Regions from separate parts of the Homo sapiens genome. Here region 1 is linked to region 2. The links are contacts of gene promoters, found by promoter capture Hi-C in blood cells and fetal thymus (Javierre and others, 2016). All regions are on one chromosome and are shown on one strand. Each heading gives the region's core, a stretch centred on a gene start or on the middle of the fragment in contact. The rest is flanking DNA. Distances are from core to core; before and after follow the strand shown.

Region 1 (6,579 bases), core at 3,012-5,511, 210 kb before region 2:
CCCAGACCTAGAAATCACCCCCTCCTCATTTTCATCCTTTGTGCTCTTCTACATCATCCCCAGACCAGGTCTCCCAGTCTCCTGGGAGACTCTTGTAATTAGTTCCTCACTGGCCCGCCCATCCCAAGCTGTCCACCTCCTTCCCTGGCTACCTGATGGAAGTTTCCAGGATGAAAATCTGATCATGTCATTTTCTTCCCTGGAATATTCTAATGACTCACATTGGAATCATGCATTAGATTTATGCCCACAGACAATCCTCCATGCAATCGTGTGGCTACACTCTTCCCTTGCACTCCAGGATTCCATGGAGTTGCAGCCACAATGAGATGGAAGAGAGAGGCAGGGCTGAGGGTTCAAGCTCTGGAAAATATTGGAAACAGGCTGCTGTGGAAGTTATGAGCTGCCACCAGCAGCGTAGACTCAGGTCTGAGGATGAGATCCCCAGTGGTTTCTGATACCACACAGTCCATCTCTAACATTCTCCTGTCATGGTTGTAATTCCTCATTAATAGATTTCTTTTTCCTGCATACCTGCTACATTCCTGGTTCTGTGCTGGGACTCACTTGCCGTTGTATTTCCTCTGCAGAGACCTGGTTCGAGTTCACCCCTCACCACGCTGGCTTCTCTGCACTGGGGGCCTTTGTTTCCATAACCCACTTCGGAAGCAAATTCAAGAAGGGAAGACTGGTCAGAACTCACCCTGAGAGAGACCTGACTTTCCTGAGAGGTCAGCGCTGGGGTCAGAGGGGATTAAAAGGGGGTGGGAAGTGGAGGAGAGGCAAGAATTTTCCTTCTGAGGGTCTAGTTTGCCCAGCTCTTAAATTTCTTGGGGGAAAGAAAAGGACTTGGTAGGCTTCCAGAAAGAGGAATGGTGTATTCCTTCTGCTGAGTCTTCAGTGTCTCTCAAAGGTCTCCTTAATGCGGCAGATACCTGATATCCTATCAAACAATCCAGGAGAGGGAGCTTAATAGAGGGGCTCAAGTCCAGGGCTGTGGCTTCCAATAAGCAGATTCAGAATGTGTTTGGGATTACATGGTGCTTTGGGAGGCTGACCTGGGAGGATCCCTTGAGACTGGGAGTTTGAGACCAACCTCGGCAACATAGCAACACTGTGTCTCTACACAAGATTTAAAAATTAGCCAGGCATTGTGGCATGTGCCTGTGGTCCCAGCTACTCAGGAGGCTGAGGCAGTGGAAGGATCACTTCAGCATGGGAGTTCAAGGCTGCAGTGAGTTATGATCGCCCCACTGCACTCCAGCCTGGATGACAGAGAAAGATCTTGTCTCAAAACAAACAAACAAACAAACAAACAAACAAAAAACTAGAATGTGTTTTGGGCACCAGCAAAGCAAGGGGCATACAATTTTTTTTAAATGGGGTATTTCCAGAAAAAATTACAACAAAAACCAAAAACAAAACAGTCATAGTGAGTAAAATCAGAACTTGATTAAATGTCCTTGACTGTAGCTTACACACTGGTATCACTTTTAGTTGTGGCTTCATAATCTTCTCAGCATTCAGGGTCTGAAGGCATTACCCTGCTGGGCAGACAGCTCCCCTACATAGGACCAACCATGCCAGCTTGAGAAAGTCATTAATGTTACCTGAGCCTCGTTTTTCTCATAGGGAAAGTACTTACCTCAAAATGTGGGTGTGAGAGTTAGGTATGATCCACAAATAAAACACTCAGCCCAGTGTCCAGCACATGGTAGGAAATTAAGGATGGTTGACTCTCCATGATTTTAGCATACACTTTTGAGACACACTAGGAGCCTGATACTATTTTAAATGCAGGGGATTCAGTCATGAGCAGGACAGTGAAGGCTCATTCCCTAATGAAGTTTGCACTCCAGGGAAGGAGATGATGAATGAACACACACAAAAATAAGTATGTATTATAATGTCAGATCATAGTAAATGCTATCTTGAAAAATAATTCATGGTAAGGGACTGGAGAGTGACTACAGTATTATTTTTAATTGGTGGTCAGAGCTTCTGACAGGAGATGGCCTTTGAGCATGGACCTGATGAAAAGTGAAGCCATGCAGATATCTTAGAGGAAAAGCATCATGGACAGAGGGAAGAGCAAATGCAGAGACCCTGTATTAGTCCGTTTTCATACTACTATAAAGATACTACCCGAGACTGGGTAATTTGTAGACAAAGGAGGTTTAATTGACTCACAGTTTCACATGGCTGGGGAGGCCTCAGGAAACTTACAATCATGGCAGAAGGTGAAAGGGAAGAAAGAACCTTCTTCAAGTGGTAGCAGGAGAGAGAAGAGCAAGCCAAAGAAGAGCTGCCCAACACTTATCAAACCATCAGATCTCGTGAGAACTCACTCGCTATCACGAGTACAGCATGGGGGGATCTGCCCCCATGATCTGATTACCTCCCACCAGGTCTCTCCCTCAACATCTGGGGATTACAACTCGAGAGATTTGGGTGGGGACATAAAGCTTAACCATATCAGACCCTAAGCCAGGACCAAGTTTGTCTTACTCTAGAACCAATGAGAAGACCAGTGAGGCTGGAGCCTCCTGAATGAGGCTGAGAGAGAGGGCTAGAGAGGTAGGCAGGGTCCAGATCATATGGGACCCTGAAGGACACAGATGAAGTTTAGTTTGGATTCCAAGTGCGATAGGAGAGCCAGGGAGGCAGTTTAATTAGGGTGGTGACCGATTCAGTTTATATGGTAAAACATCTCACTCTCTCTCTCTCTCTCTGAGCATGGATTAGGGGTGGGTGTGTAAACTTAGAAGTTGGGAGCAGTTGAGAAGCTAATGGTCCTGGTGACAGATAATGGCAGTTTAAGGTTGGGTACCAGAATGGATATGGGAGGGAAGTGGATGGACTCTGGAAACCTGGAGATGGATGAAGAAGAATTACACCTGGATTGGATGTGGAGAGTAAGGAGAATCAGAGATGACATCAAAGGTTCCAGCTTCTGCAACCTGGTAGATGGAGGGGTGTTCTCAGGGGAGGAGAACAAGGTAGGATGAAGGGGATCTTCCCCTTTTCTCTGGTCTGGACAGACGGGGTCCTTCACATTGCCAAGCCTGGCTCCTGTCTCCTATCCCCACCATCTCTTTGCTAAATCTGGTCTTGGGCATCAGAGATTTTGAAATTGTCACTCCCAGGTACTCCCTATAACATTATTATTTCCTTAGATGTATGTATCACCTACTGAAGGGATTCTGTACGTGTATTTTATCCCTCCCCTCACACACCAGGGTGCTTTTTATTTATTATTATAAAATAAACATAACATAAAATTTGCCATTTTAACCATTTTAAAGTGTCAAGTACAGTGGTATAAATACAATACATTCATAATGTTGTGCAACCATCACTGCCATCCATCTCCATAACACTTTTCATCTTGTAAAACTGGAACTCTACGCCCATTGAATACTAAGTCCCTGTCACCCCCTCCCTTAGCCCCTGACAACCACAATGCTACCTTCTGCCTCTACGATTTTGACTACTCTGAGTATGACATGTAAATGGAATCATGCAGTGCTTGTCTTTTTGTGTCTGTCTGATTTCACTGAGGAAAATGACTTCGAAGTTCATCCATGTTGTACCATGTGTCTGAATTTCCTTTCTTTTTATGGCTGAATCATATTCCATTGTACGAATATACCACATTTTGCTTATCAATTCATCCATCGATGGACACATGGATTGCTTTCACCTTTTGGCTGTTGTGAAGGAACCTGCCATGCACATGGGTCTATGAATATCTCTTTGAGACCCTGCTTTCAATTCTTTTGGGTATATACTCAGAGGTAGAATTGCTGGATCATGTATGTGGTAATTCTACTTTTAAAATTTTGAGGCCAGGTGTGGTGGCTAATGCCTGTAATCCCAGCACTTTGGGAGGCCGAGGCGGGTGGATCACCTGAGGTTGGGAGTTGGAGACCAGCCTGACCAACATGGTGAAACCCCATCTCTACAAAAAATACAAAATTAGCCGGGCATGGTGGTGCATGCCTGTAATTCCAGTTACTCAGGAGGCTGAGGCAGGAGAATCTCTTGATCTCGAGAGGCGGAAGCTGCAGTGAGCGGAGATCGCGCCATTGCGCTCCAGCCTGGGCTATCTCAAAAAAAAAAAAAATTTTTTTTTTGAGGAACGACCATACCATTTTCCACAGTGGCTGTACCATTTTATATTCTGCCCAATGGTGTCCCAGGTTTCCAATTTCTCCACGTCCTCATCAACACTTATTGTTTTCTGGGGTTTTTTGGATACCAGCCATCCTAATGGGTGTGTCTATTTTTTTTTTTTTTTTTTTTTTTTTTGAGATGGAGTCTCACTCTGTCTCCCAGGCTGGAGTGCAGTTGTGTGATCTCTGCTCACTGCAACCTCCCAGGTTCAAGTTATTCCCCTGCCTCAGCCTCCCAAGTAGCTGGGACTATAGGTGCATACCACCAGGCCTGGCTAATTTTTGTATTTTTTAGTAGAGATAGGGTTTCACCATGTTAGCCAGGCTGACTTTAAACTCCTGACTTCAATTGATCCGCCCACCTCAGTCTCCCAAAGTGTTAGCATTACAGGCGTGAGCCACCGTGCCTGGCTGATTATTCATTTTTTATGTCTCCCTGTATCATATACAAATGTGTTTGGCTAAAAGTCACTAACCAACCACAGTGCCCCGAGGACATGTGGGATTAATTTTCTTACAAAAGAAAAAGACAGACTGAGCACCGTGACTCACAGCTGAAATCCCAGCACTGTGGGAGGCCGAGGCGGGCAGATCACTTGAGGTCAAGAGTTCAAGACCAGACGGGCCAACATGGTGAAACCCCGTCTCTACTTAAAAAATACAAAAATTAGCAGGGCGTGGTGGTGCATGCCTGTAATCCCAGCTAGTCGGGAGGCTGAAGCAGGAGAATCACTTGAATCTGGGAGGCAGAGGTTGCAGTGAGCCGAGATCACACCACTGCACTCCAGCCTGGGCAACAGAGCGAGATCCCATCTCAAAATAAATAAATAATACAAAGTTAGGTGGCTGGTGACATTGGTTTAGCTGTGCAACATTAAGCAGAAGGACCCAGGTTTATTCTAGATTTTCTGCTCCTCCATCCTTAGCATATTAAGTCACCCTCATGCTGAACTCCTCCACACCACGGGATGGCGGCTGCATCCAATGAAGCTGCAACTTTTTTTTTTTTTTTTGAAGTCAGGGTCTCTCTCTGTCACTCAAGCTGCCGTGCAAAAGCACAGTCATAGCCCAATACAGGTCTTGAACTCCTGGCCTCAAGTGATCTTCCTGCCTCAGCCTCCCAAGTAGCTGAGACTAGAGTTGCATGCCACCATACCTGGCCTGCTCCTTCTGAGAAGGAGAACAAGCACTTTGCAGAAGTCCCCCCAGCAGTGTGCATGGACCAGAGCTTGACCGTCCCCTAGCTGCAAGGGAGGCTGGGAAATATTTGCCCTTCCTGCCTGTGTGCTGAGAAGGGTTGGCATGGACAGGAGCTTGAAATGGCCTTGGGGTAGCCAGTCTACAGTGCCCGGCTGGCTCCACCCATAGAAGGTTCGTGAGGACAAGGACTTTATCTGTCTTGTTTACTGCTCTATTCCAACAGCCAGAAGAGTGCCGGGTGCCCACTAATTGCTTCATAAATATTTATGGAATGGAAGAAAGATCTTTCTTCCTGCTGCAGATCCCTGCAGTGCTTTATGCCAGTCTGCTGGTGCTTTGAATATCAAACATGACAGTCACGTGATGGAGAATGTTTGAATTTTATTGCTCTTTTCTTGGCAGGTTTATGGGGAAGTGCTCTTGGTAACACTGAAGTCATTAGGGAATACATTTTTGGTGAGTATTTGGGGAACAGAAAGGTCAAACCCTAGAGATATTTTATGCAAGGAGATTCACAGTACTTTTCCTACTCATGGCAGAAGAGAGACCTGTGTGTAATTGTTCTAGCAACTGCTTTTCCTGACATTTATTCTCATATAATTGGGCAGCCAGGATGACCACAGAGTGGATGAGAGTACAGACTCCCTTGGAAGGAATGTTGCTCTGGTACATGTAAGCTTTGTGACCTCCGAAAAGTTACTTAACCTCTCTGTGCCTCGGTTTCTGCCTCTGTGCCATGCGGGTGATAATAACAGTAGTTATGAATATTTGATGAGTTAATTCATTGAAAGCTTGTAGGACAGTGCCTGGTAGATAACGGCACTCAGTAAACATTAGCAATCATTACCTGGTCCCTCATTTAACATTTAACCCCTTTAATACCCTAAGAGGCAGACGCTTTTGTCCCTTCCATTTTGCTGAGATCCACCAAGTCGTGGGAAGGATGCGTGACTCACCCACACTGCTGGTCAGTGAGTGCAGACGCGGGGATCTATAGGAGAACTGGGTGGTGGATCTCTAGGGGAATAGTGTGGTGGTTCTGATCCAAAGCCTGTCTGCCTGGATCCACATCCCGGCTCTGCTTCTCCTGCACTGCTCACTCTGGAAAGCTGCTTAAATTCTCTGTGACCCAATTTCCCCTTCCTAAAATGGAGACAATAGTACGTAGTCGCAGTCTCGTATATTTGATGTGGGGTTTAAATGA
Region 2 (7,039 bases), core at 4,461-6,960:
GATTTTCAGGCTGTTCTTCGTTTGAAGGAGTTTTACCAAGGACTCACCCTAACTGCCTGTCTGACCACTTTCTTCCTACCTCCTCTCTCACTATCCACAGCCCTGATCTCAGCCCTGGGGGGACATTGACATCTTCTCCCAGATCAGCTCCTCAGAGGCCTCACTCTGGGCCACAGCTGAAGTGATTCTTCCAGCTCCAGAGATTACTGCCAGACATGGAAAGAACCCAAACCAGATGCTGGAGATAAGATCTCAGGAGCTCATCCCAGCCAATCTGCCAGTGCCCACGTGGAGCCATGTTTAGGTTTTATCTATTCATTTTATAATGAAATGTCTCACACATATAGAAAAGCAGGTAAACAGGCTGGGCACGGTGGCTCAGGCCTGTAATCCCAGCACTTTGGGAGGCTGAGGCAAGCAGATCACTTGAGGTCAGGGGTTTGAGACCAGCTTGGCCAATATGGCAAAACCCCATCTCTACTAAAGATACAAAAATTAGCCAGGTATGGTGGTGCCTACCTGTAATCCCAGCTACTCAGGAGGCTGAGGCAGGAGAATCACTTGAACCCAGAAGGTGGAGGTTGCAGTGAGCCGAGATCACGCCATTGCACTCCAGCCTGAAAAACAGAGTAAGACTCTGTCTCAAAAAAAAAAAAGAAAAGAAAAGCATGTCAACAAAACTCTTTAAGGCTATCATTTTGCCCTATGGCTTCAGATAAAGACTCCAGTGAGAAAGTCAAAACACAATTGAGGCTTCTTCTAAAGTCTTTCCTGAGTCTGCTGCTCTGCTCCCCTTTCCAGAGGTGAAATTGTTCTGCAACTTCCTGCCCGTGGTGTTTACGATCATGGCACCTCTCCCCACTGCTCTGTGCCTGTGAACGTGGCCTGAGCACCATCTCTTCATAATTAGGAATCTGCCTGTTCCTCTAACATTCTGTGCTGAGTGTGTGCAGGCTGACAGATGTAAGTCCCATTCATTCATTCATTCATTCATTCATTCAACTATAGTGTCATCTTCCACATATTCTATAACTTATCCTGTGTTTTAAATTAATCATTCATCCCCAAATTCAACTGGTTTCCCATTTTTCACGGTTGCAATGTTGAAATACACATTTTTTTTTCGAGTTTCCTTGTCCATGTATGAAAATGTCTCCAAGGACATATATCTCTGCAAGTTTCAACTCCAGTTACTTTCTGAAACTCTCCTCCAATACCACCATGCAAATGAACAGATCCCCCAAATTCGAACGGCCTGACCAACAGGTAGTATCATCCCATTTTTTTCTTCTAACGTATAAGAAGTGACAACCTACATGCATTACTGTGATTTTGATTTGTATTTCCCTGATTACAGGTATGATTAATAATCAATTGTATGGTTTAATGGTCCTTTTATTTCCCTTTTCTGTCAAATAATAATATCCTTTGTCTTTTTAAAAAAGATATAAGTATGGCCAGGCGTGGCGGCTCATGCCTGTAATTCTTTGGGAGGTCAAGGCAGGTGGATCACCTGAGATCAGGAGTTCAAGACCTGCCTGGCCAACATGGTGAAACCCCATCTCTACTAAAAGTACAAAACTTAGCTGGGCATGGTGGCACACCTTTGTAATCCCAGCTGCTCAGGAGGCTGAGGCAAGAGGTTCACTTGAACTGGAGAGGCGGAAGTTGCAGTGAGCTGAGATTGCACCACTGCACTCCAGCCTGGGCAACAGAGTGAGACTCCATCTCAAAATAAAATAAAATAAATAATAGGCCAGGCGCAGTGGCGCATGCCTGTAATCCCAGTACTTCGGGAGGCCGAGGAGGGCGGATCACGAGGTCAGGAGATCGAGACCATCCTGGCTAACACGGTGAAACCCCGTCTCTACTAAAAAAATACACAAAATTAGCCGGGCATGGTGGCTGGCACCTGTAGTCTCAGGTACTCGGGAGGCTGAGGCAGGAGAATGGCGTGAACCCAGGAGGTATAGAGCTTGCAGCGAGCTGAGATCGTGCCACTGCACTCCAGCCTGGGCAACTGAGCACGAGACTCCGTTTCAAAAAAAAAAAATTTTTTCACAATTTAAAAAGTACAGGCCCGTCATTTTGCAGACTGTCCCTCATTTGGGGTTCATATAATGTTATCTCACTAATATATTCAGGCCTAGAGTTTATGTTTAAAATATGGCCACATAGAAAGGGAAGAGGGAGAAAAGTCAAGTGACCTCTGGTGACCAAGGTCAACATCATTAGTGCCAGGTCATGTTGCTAATAAGTCCCCTTGATATGGTGTGATGATCATGGTATTTTACCTCTGTGACCTTCCTCTCCAAAACCCATGAACTCATTTGTTGGATGAGAAAACCTGCAATAAATCCCAAAGGAGGAACATTGTACAAAATGCCTCACCAGTGTTCTTCAAAACCATCAAGGTCATCAAAAATGAGGAAAGTCGGCCAGGCGCAGTGGTTCGCACCTGTAATCCCAGTACTTTGGGAGGCCAAAGTGGGCGGATCACCTGAGGTCAGGAGTTCGAGACCAGCCTGGCCAATATGGTGAAACCCCGTTTCTACTAAAAATGCAAAAATTAGCCGGGTGTAGTGGCGCGTGCCTGTAATCCCAGCTACTCGTGAGGCTGAGGCAGGAGAATCACTTGAACTGGGGAGGCAGAGGCTGCAGTGAGCCAAGATTGTGCCACTGCACTCCAGCCTGGGCAGCAGAGCAAGACTCCATCTCAAAAAAAAAAAAAATGAGGAAAGTCTGAGCAACAACTGTCACAGCCAAGAGGAGCCCAAGGAGACAGGATGAGTGTATGTCATGTACTATACAGGATGGGATTTTGGGGCAAAAAAAGGGCATGAGACAGTGAGCCAGGATCATGCCACTGCACTTCAGCCTGGGCAACAAAGAGAGAACTCTGTCAAAAAAAAAAAAAAAAAACACGAGCATGAGATAAAAACTAAGGAAATCCAAATTAAGTATGGACTATGGGAACTCTCTGTACTCTCTTTGCAATTTTTCTGTAAGTCTAAAAGTGCCCTAAAAAATGAGGCGTATTAAAAATATTTTTTTCCTGTTTGGGAAGAGTTTAGAAACTGGAAATACTAGATTCAGGAGAAGGGCAGACTTGCTTGATAAGGGACCGATGTTTGTGCAGTAATTTGGAGTGTGGTTTGTTTTTGAATCTTTAATTAAATCCTGGGATTGGCCGGGCGCAGTAGCTCACACCTGTAATCCCAGCACTTTTGGAGGCCGAGGCGGGTGGATCACGAGGTCAGGAGTTTGAGACCAGCCTGGCCAACATGGTGAAACCCCATGTCTACTAAAAGTACAAAAATTAGCCAGGCGTGGTGGTGGGCGCCTGTAATCCCAGCTACTCAGGAGGCTGAGGCAAGAGAATCGCTTGGACCCAGCAGGCGGAGGTTGCAGTGAGCCCGAGATCATGCCATTGCACTCTAACCTGGGTGACAAGAGCAAGAGTCCATCTCAAAACAATAAATAAATAAATAAAATTAAAAAGTAAAACCTGGGATTATATATCGCTGATAGATATTCACGCTTGAACCACAGTTACTATAAAATGCAAAAATTCTTAATACTGTTATTCTTTGCACTTTTTCTTAATCATTTTATATATATGCATATATATATGCGCATATATATATGCATATATATATACATATATATCTTGTTTAGGTTGTTTTGTACAGATGTGGGCCACCATTGCAACAAAATAAATTCTTTTTGCTCTAAAATATTTATAAAGAAAATACTTAAATGTGATGTACAGGGTGGTAATAAGGGAAAAATCAAGTATTATAAACAAGAATGAAGGCTTTTTTTCTTTCCTTTTTTTTTTTTTTTTTTTTGAGACGGAGTCTCGCTCTGTCGCCCAGGCTGGAGTGCAGTGGCGAGATCTCGGCTCACTGCAAGCTCCGCCTCCCGGGTTCATGCCATTCTCCTGCCTCAGCCTCCTGAGTAGCTGGGACTACAGGCACCCGCCACCACGCCCGGCTAATTTTTTGTATTTTTAGTAGAGACGGGGTTTCACCGTGTTAGCCAGGATGGTCTCGATCTCCTGACCTCGTGATCCGCCCGCCTCGGCCTCCCAAAGTGCTGGGATTACAGGCGTGAGCCACCACACCGTGCCCAGACCAAGAATGAAGGTTTTTGTAAAGATTTCTGTTCAGTGTTTTGCAAGGTAAAATTCTAGGCACGTTTTCCCTGAAGTTATGTGTATGTGAGTATTCTCATTCTTCCCAACTTGCCTTTGAAGAGTGAAAAAACATTATTATCAAGTAGACTTCTATTCAGCTTTTGCTCCTGCCCTGCTGTTTATCCCTTAAGAATGAGTTTCTTGGACTTTCCCAATATGTGATTTTTTTTTCCCATTTAGAATGGTGATTTTAAATGTGTGAGTGCATGCATTATCTTATCTCAGATATTTGCACCCCCAATCCACCCCCATCTCCCTAAAGCTAGAACACTGCCAACTGATCTGTTGTATAGGTCCTTTAGAAACACATAATTAGGCTGGGCGTGGCGGATCACAAGGTCAGGAGATTGAAACCATCCTGGCTAACACGGTGAAACCCCGTCTCTACTAAAAATACAAAAAATTAGCTGGGCGTGGTGGCGGGCACCTGTAGTCCCAGCTACTCTGGAGGCTGAGGCAGGAGAATGGCATGAACCCAGTAGGCAGAGCTTGCAGCAAGCCGAGATCGCGCCACTACACTCCAGCCTGGACGACAGAGTGAGACTCCATCTCAAAAAAAAAAAAAAAACAAACAAACACATAATTAACACTTAAGGTTGGGTGCTGCCAATTCTTTGTGAAAATCCAAATATTATTAAGGAAACAGGGAGATGCCACTACCTCTTGATTTTCCATCTAAAAACATACATGTTTATGCAAACAAATCTTTCCATATTCATAGTGACTTTTCAAGTATTTGAGTCTAAAGATTTTCATCTCACATTTTTATACCGTTTAAATTGTTCACAATTATTACATACACGTCAGCCATCAACTAAAGTTGTACTTTAAAAATTTACTACAATATATACACTGCTAATATTTGTACTTACTCTTTTTTTCTCTAGAGTGGAGGTATAATTGTGTGATACTTCAGAAATACAGATAAATGATTCAAAAAGTCTCAGGGAGAATAATGTTTCTTTGATCGTGAATAACTGATTAGTAATTCTTGCCTATATTTTCCTGAGAGCATATGACAAATGTTTCTAAGGTAACAAGATGAGAACAGATAAAGACTGTGTGGTCTTTTGGATTTGGAGAGACATATTTTAATTTTTAAATGCAGTTACAAATTATAATGTATTCATATTTGTACTTTCTGTTAAAATGCACGATTGCAGGATTATTTAGATTTTGTGTTTATGCTTGATGAAAAGCTTTGTTCTTGTTTTTAAGTTTGCACTCAAACCTTAAGAAATAAATTCACCCATATTATCAAAAAAAATATTTGTCCTCGTGTTTGTTATTCGATCTTGCAGTTCACTCTCAGGAACGCAAGCTCAGATGACCCCTAAAATGGTCTCTAGATAAGTTCATGATTGCTCAACATCTTCAATCTTTTGAGTATGGGTCACATTATACCTCTCTTTATCAGCAAGTAAACTTTACAACAAACATGTGACATGCTGGGACAAGGTTAAAGATCGTTTTATCCTTGCTGTAAAAGCTGATCTGCCTGTAGCTGCCACAGCCTCCAGCGGTGGCTACAGTTGAAACCCTCACACCACGCAGGAAGAGGTCATCATCATGTCGGACGATTTCTTATGGTTTGAAGGCATAGCTTTCCCTACTATGGGTTTCAGATCCGAAACCTTAAGAAAAGTACGTGATGAGTTCGTGATAAGGGATGAAGATGTAATAATATTGACTTACCCCAAATCAGGTAAGGAGGCAGAATCGTGAACTGAGAAAGGCTGTGGTTGTGTTCCTGTCCATTCAGTGCATGATTGGAGTTCTTCCTTTATGTCAGACAGTGTACAATGCTTTAAGGGGAAGAGAGGAATGCCTAATACCATTGACAATCAGAGAAAAGGATTTAGTCAGGAAATTACACAGTAGGATGAGTGTTCAGAGGGGTAATCTAAGGTATTAGGAGAATCCACAGGAGTGAATCCCAAGGCAAATTCAGGTGTTTGTTTGGTGGCAGTGGGAGGGAGGATGGCTGAGGATGACCAATGATGTCCTGAAAGAAGAAATAGCATTTAAATGGAAATGCAAAGAATGAGTATGAAATTACTTGGGGGGAGGGCTATTTTCAGATAGGAGAATCATCAGGGCAATGGCCAGGAACCACAAAAGAGCCAGGCAATCTCAAGGGGCTGAAAGATGAGGATCATATGTCTCTGGGAGTGGGGCTGTGGGTGGAGGGCGGTAAGAGCACTGCGGATGCGGTGAGGATTGAGGCTGAAGACATTGGAAGTGGCATGGCCCTGAGAGGCCAAGAGCAATGGGAACATAATAAGAGGGATTTCAGCAAATAGCCAAAAGATGGAAGCAACCCAGATATCCACTGACAGGTGAGTGAATAAACAAAATGTGGTATATAGCTATAATGGAATGTTATTCATCCTTGAGAAGGAAGAAAATTCTGATGCATGATACAACAGAGATAAACATCAAGGACATTATGCTAAATGAAATAAGCCAGTCACAAAAATACAAATAGTGTGTGATTCCACTTACATAAGGTACCTGGAGTCATCAAGTCCATAGAAACAGAAAGTACACTGGCGGCTGCCAGGGGCTGAAGAGAAGGGTAAATGGGGAGTCGGTGCTGGCTCTGCATAGAGTTTCGGTTTTGCAACACAAAAATCCTCTGGAGATTGGTTGAGCAGCACTGGGAATATACTTAACACTTAACACTACGAAACCGTAGGCTTAAAAGTGGTTGACAGGCTGGGCATGGTGGCTCATACCTGTAATCCCAGCACTTTGGGAGGTCAAGGCAGGTGGATTGCCTGAGGTCAGGAGTTCGACACCAGCCTGGCCAACATGGCAAAACCCCGTCTCTACTAAAAA

What was found. Contacts are between HindIII fragments. The CHiCAGO score rates a contact against its expected background, and 5 or more counts as called.
Region 1: a fragment that was not itself captured here is called in contact with the fragment with the promoter of SULT2A1 in region 2 in 1 of 17 cell types (M2 macrophages); the score reaches 5.0 in M2 macrophages.

Annotation. Positions count from the first base shown.
Region 1 is chr19:48,089,616-48,096,194 of GRCh38, reverse strand. PLA2G4C (phospholipase A2 group IVC) reads left to right here. Exons shown (of 17, transcript NM_003706.3): 7 at 591-731; 8 at 5,778-5,831. Among named protein-coding and RNA genes, the nearest start is that of PLA2G4C, 18 kb to the left of the region's middle. The HindIII fragment of the contact is 3,587 bases long and covers 2,468-6,054 here.
Region 2 is chr19:47,884,986-47,892,024 of GRCh38, reverse strand. It overlaps SULT2A1 (sulfotransferase family 2A member 1), which reads left to right and starts at 5,710. Exons shown (of 6, transcript NM_003167.4): 1 at 5,710-5,903. The coding sequence starts at 5,768. The HindIII fragment of the contact is 7,780 bases long and covers 5,400-7,039 here.